2 separate regions of the Homo sapiens genome follow, and region 2 is linked to region 1. The links are contacts of gene promoters, found by promoter capture Hi-C in blood cells and fetal thymus (Javierre and others, 2016). All regions are on one chromosome and are shown on one strand. The core of a region is centred on a gene start or on the middle of the fragment in contact, and the rest is flanking DNA. Distances in the headings are between cores, read along the strand shown.

Region 1 (2,704 bases), core at 88-2,587:
AGGAGAACAAATCATTGCAAATCATTGTGGTGACGGACTGCACTTCAGTTGCAAGATGTTCTGGCTGGATACTAACTGGAGAACGCAAGGCAGCAGATGCAACCCATGGACAAGTTTGAGGTATTTAATACCAAGGGCTGGCAAGTCTGACCCTGTAGTCAAAGTCAAGATTGCCTCTCTGCCTACCAGGACCCCAAAACAAAGTTCCTTTCACTACCCACGAATAAACGGGGGTGGGGGTAGCAAGCCGTTTCCTTTTTTCGTGGAAAGAGCTGCAAAGAGTTTTGTCATGCAACTTGGTTTGGTGCCTGTTAGTGTCAATGTAAGAGCAGCAGAGTCCGCGAAGGTGGCTGTTACCATTCCACAGACCTGCGGCGAGGACTGTCAATCCGATTCAGCAAATAACCCCACCTCTCCAAGCCAGGACTCCAGAGCTGCCCTGTGTGGTGTCTCAGCAAGGAAAGCCAACAAAGCTGGTAGACACAGGCAGACCGTAGCCCACCGCCTGTGAGTGGAGGCTCCGAGCCGACTTCACCTCCTCCTCAGAGGGACCGGCCCGATCCGAAAGGGCGGTCTCCAGGGGTCCCCATCCCGCACCACGCACACAGCCTGGCGCAACTAAAGAGGAAGTCGGATGTCACATCCAACGGATAAATAAAGACAGCCCGGCCACACAAGAGCCGCATTCTGGGCAGGACTCCTGCTAGGTTTGGGGAGGGGTCCCAGTCTGCGATCCTTTCTCCCTCTTCGTGCAGCGTCCTCCTCCCCGGGGCCCGGGCCGGCGGCGCCCACGCAACGCGGCGCGGTGCGAGTCCCGAGAGCACCTCGAGCCCCCGGCCCCCTCCCCAGCCCCGCCGGGCCCGCGGCCGCCGCACTCCCGCACGCCGGCTGCCCAGCGCCCACGGGCCCTGCCCCAGACTCGGGCGCGCAGTTCCGACGGCCCAGGGCGGGGACGGCGCGGCGGAGGGGAGCTGCCGCCGCGGGCTCTCGGAGGCACCGGCGGCCGCACACAGTCCTCCCCTTCGCCGCGAGTAAACAGCTCGCGGGCGCGCTCCAGCCGCGCCCCCATCCCCCCGCCGGGCTCCGCGCCGCCCCGCGCCCGCGCGTCCCGCCCGCCGGCGCCGCCGCCCGCTACCTGGTCGGTGAGTTTGAGCACTGCCATTCTTCCGCTCCTTCGCGCGCACACACATGCAGGTCCCCGGCCCGCAGATGTCACGCCGGGAGCCGGGGAAGCGGAAGGGATTGCCAGGAGAAGGGAAAAAATCTGGCTCCCGAATTTGACAGCCCTCCCCCTGCTCCTCCTCCGCCGCCGCCTCCTCCCGCCGAGAGGCTGACACTGGCTAGTGGGGTTTGCAGCCGAGCCCGCCCGCCTTTCCACAGGAAGTACCGGCTGCTGCCAGCCGGGCCGCCACTGACATCACCGCGCGCTGGCTCGCTCGCCGCCCGCCGCCTGGGCCGACGCTGCCTCCTGCCGCCCGCAGCCGAGCCGCGCAGCCCGGCCCCCGGCGCTGCCCCCGCGCCCGCACCGGGCCGCCGCCTGCCTTCCGCACCTGCACGCGGCGCCCGGCCGGGCCGGCCCCGGGCCCTGGGCGGATCGCGGGCCTCCCTGACGGGTCTCACACATATGGGTGGGGAAGCCCGCGGGGACACACCCCGAGGGGGCAGGAAAGGCTCTCACTCACATGCCGTCCACTTTAACCGGGGAGATGGGGTTACGCCCCCTTCCCCTAACCCAGAATCAGGTGGTGGCAGCGCCCCGAAGATCCCAGGGACCGCAATTATGATGCTCCCTTTGTTTAATGCCAGGAGGCAGCGGACACATTGTGATTCTTTACAGGGTGTTTGCCAAACATTTATGGGTGGAGGGAACAGAAGCTCTGGCCCTTCCACCTTGTTCTCCAGCCACTTTCCAGCTAAACACACACACACATATGCACACACACATACTATTGTTAAATTCAAACACCCTGGGTTTGGTTTTTGCTGGTGGGGGTGGAGTGGAGTTCCTGGAGAAGCAAAGCAGTCCTAAATCACCGAGTTGATGGGTCTTTTGGGTGTTCCCACCAGTCCTTACTGATCTCTACAAAATCCCAAGTTACCAAGCTCTTCAACAAATAGAAGACAGCTGTCAAACACCATGGGCTACAGATACAACGGGCATATTCGTAAGCATAGTAGCTGTTGATAGTTCTGGAATTTGGAGCAAACACTTATTCATTGAACAGCTATGTACTGAGTCCCTACCTTGTCAGGCACTGGCTAGGCACGGGAATAAACGGAGAGCATAAATAAGATAACCTGCTCTCAGAAGATGCCAACATAAACCGCATAGTCTCTGCTAATGAATGTAATTACAAACTGAGATAAGGGATCTCAAGGGAAAACATGCTTCTGAAGTGAACCCACAACAAAGGAATCAGACCAGACTGGTGGGTGAGGGCAGGCTTCCCTGAGAAAGTGACAGGAGTTGAGATCTGGAGAAGGGAGAATTAAGTAAGCAAGTGGAGAGGAAGTGCTCCCAGGCAGCCCCATGTGCCCCTGGCAGGCCATAGAGCAAACCTGTAGGGCAGCATTGAACAGCTTTGAAGAGCAAACTAGAGCTACAGAATTCTTTGGTCAAGACCAAACATCTGCCTCTACTGTATATTCACAAACCAAATGTCCATTCTTCCTCCCTACTCTTAGAACCTCCCCCAAAGATTCC
Region 2 (2,704 bases), core at 65-2,564, 530 kb before region 1:
ATATATCTACGTGTTTTAACTTTCAGCAAGAAAATTATAGTATATGAAATACTTTATATCTCGGCATAGGCCTTAAAAATATAGTGTGTATAGATGCATAGGTCAAAAACCCTGCTTTCATATCAAATCACAAAGTAAAACTCAACCTTATGTTGAATGCAAGATGTATACCTAAAATCAAGTGATTCAGGAAAGCTGAAAATAAAAGGACAAAGGTATAGCAGGCAGGTGCAAACAAAAAAAAAAAATAGGTGTCACAATCTCAATATGAGACAATGTAGAATTCAGACCAACTATATTTAAAAAGGTAAGGAGGTCACTTCATAATGCTACAGGGCAGTGCTACTCAAACTAGTCTGGGACCTGTGCAGGTAAACAAACTGTTACCAGTTCAATCAGGTAAGTATGGAGATTGAGAGTAAGTATTTAGATACTTTAATGGCAACTTGACAATGCTAAGGAAAGCAGTATATATATTTATAGCCCCTACAGCTTATATATTATTAACTAACATTTAACATACACTATCTTTTAAAAAGCTTGTCTTTGTGTCACTGATACTTTATTCTCCTGAACTCCCATTAGGTCTTTCACATTCAGAAGAATTTAAAAATGTGACTGTCAATAGACAATACATAATCTACCATAAATGGTCTCATTTTTTAAAATGCATACTAAAAAACTACCTTTGCTCACTTTGTATCTGTTTTAATCTCCTAGTCTTCTGGACATATCTTTTTCTTTAAAGTTATTTCATCAACACTAAGCTGCCAGATTTCAGATGCACCGTTATTTTACATGCTAAAAAATAAAGAAGCCACTACTTAAACTCTAACCTGTTGTTGATTTATGTTAATATGTGCCAGGAAGGAAGGGAAGGAGGGAAGGAGGGAGGGAGGGAGGGAGGGAAGTAAAATATATTAAACAACAAAATGATTATATCTACAATTAAAACTTGAACAGAACTTGGTATTTCTCTACCAAGTTTTCCAAACAAAGGACAGATTTTCAACACAATTAAGAAGAAAAATCTTAAGCAGAAATTATGACAGTAAAATAATAACTTCATTGGGCCTTGGCTCGTGCCTAAGCCAGGTCCTAGTAAAGTATCAAAACTGGCAAAGCCTCCTTCACATGCCCTAATCCATGCTTTCATCCACAATTTCTACTCCTTATTCTACTCATTCACACCACCCTGATGACTCAACAGCCCCAACCACAGCCTGTGATCTGGTCCTGCTCTTCCAAGCAGTGCTCCTACACCCTGTGACTCAATCTGGATCACACTCCCCATGGGTGTCTGCTTAAATTGGGCCTCTATAAACATCTTCTGATCCTTGTATACTGCTCTCCTCTATTTTCCCATAACATCAACTTTGCTACAGAAATTATCACACAACTCTTAAAACTGTATGCACCTCATTTGAACGCCTCTTCCCGCCTCCACTTCCTTGAGAGCAGGAAATATCATACTCATCTGCGTAGTCTCCACACACCTAGCAGTCCCTTACAAGAAACTTACTGAACTGGGTTTCCCTTCCCCAAAAACTTTCCACTTCAACATTTATCTGTCCCACATCTCACCTTGGGCCTTACTCTCTATGAATTAGCACAGATTGGCTTGTGTAAGTGAATTACTGCTCACCATTAGGATGGATCATGTTTTAAGTAACAGTTTTTGTTTTTGAATAATGATGCCTTAGCCCAAAGGATTACATAATGATGGAATTTTTAGGCATCATGACAGGCCACGGAAGGAGCTGTTATGAACCAGGCAGGACTCAGTACCAACTCACTTGGTCCTTCCACAAATTCCATCAAAATCCTCACAGTGTAGGGGTTGAAGGTACTATACAGGAATTCTCTTACAAGAGCCGGGTTATATACTCTGCTCATAAAGATCAATTTTGCTACAACTTGATGTAGGGTCTTGAATGTTAATATTTTTACAGAATAGGTTAATGAGTATGGTACAAAGAGACTGCAAGCCACACTTAGGTATAACTTTCTAACCAGATCACTAATTATATATTTGAGTTTTCAAACAATGTAGGGTAATCATATTAGTTTCTACTTATTATGTGAATGCTTAAGCTTAAAGTCAAATGTTTTAAGTAAGAGCATTTTAGGTCCTATTTGAAAAGTAAATTGCTTCAGTGCTAAAAGTTTTTGATAAACTTCAGTAATTCGTTTTTTTTCCTAAAAAAAGGAATGAAAAAGACTGTCAATGAAAAATGCCATGTTCAAATGGACATACAGGGACTCAAAACAAATTTTTTTAAAGATTACTTGTAAGTCAATACTCACAAGATATGAAATCTCTGAGAAAAAAATGCTTCTTGGGAAAACTTATTATGAGAACATTAACTATCAACTCACCACAGTATGAAATAAATTTTCACCATAAAACGCCACCTTATGACCAAGAGAGGATTATATACACTTTCCTAAGCAGAGGAAACTACAACCTTTATTCTCTTCTGAGGTGCCTTCTTCTGAAGTTTTTTTTTCCAGCACAATTCCAGAAAAATCTGTAATTATCTAAAAGAATGGGAAAGAAGAAAGGAAATAAAATATGTGTGAAAAACCATTTCATAATGCAAAGATTTGTACAGTTATTTCAAATAATCCCTAATATAAAGTTGGGCTATAAAAAGAAAGAGTCTTTTAAAAATGAGAAACCCTGTGACACATTAACATTTTA

The links. Contacts are between HindIII fragments. The CHiCAGO score rates a contact against its expected background, and 5 or more counts as called.
Region 2: a contact is called between a fragment that was not itself captured here and the fragment with the promoter of ANKRD44 in region 1, in 1 of 17 cell types (total B cells). The highest score is 6.3, in total B cells.

What each region holds. Positions count from the first base shown.
Region 1 is chr2:197,309,443-197,312,146 of GRCh38, forward strand. It overlaps ANKRD44 (ankyrin repeat domain 44), which reads right to left and starts at 1,338. Exons shown (of 28, transcript NM_001195144.2): 1 at 1,136-1,338. The coding sequence starts at 1,162. It overlaps ANKRD44-DT (ANKRD44 divergent transcript), which reads left to right and starts at 1,624. Exons shown (of 4, transcript XR_923750.3): 1 at 1,624-2,704. RefSeq lists an enhancer at 189-690 and silencers at 814-1,193, 1,244-1,563, 1,574-1,653. The HindIII fragment of the contact is 14,364 bases long and covers 1-2,704 here.
Region 2 is chr2:196,782,389-196,785,092 of GRCh38, forward strand. GTF3C3 (general transcription factor IIIC subunit 3) reads right to left here. Exons shown (of 18, transcript NM_012086.5): 8 at 2,469-2,541. Among named protein-coding and RNA genes, the nearest start is that of GTF3C3, 16 kb to the right of the region's middle. The HindIII fragment of the contact is 1,555 bases long and covers 538-2,092 here.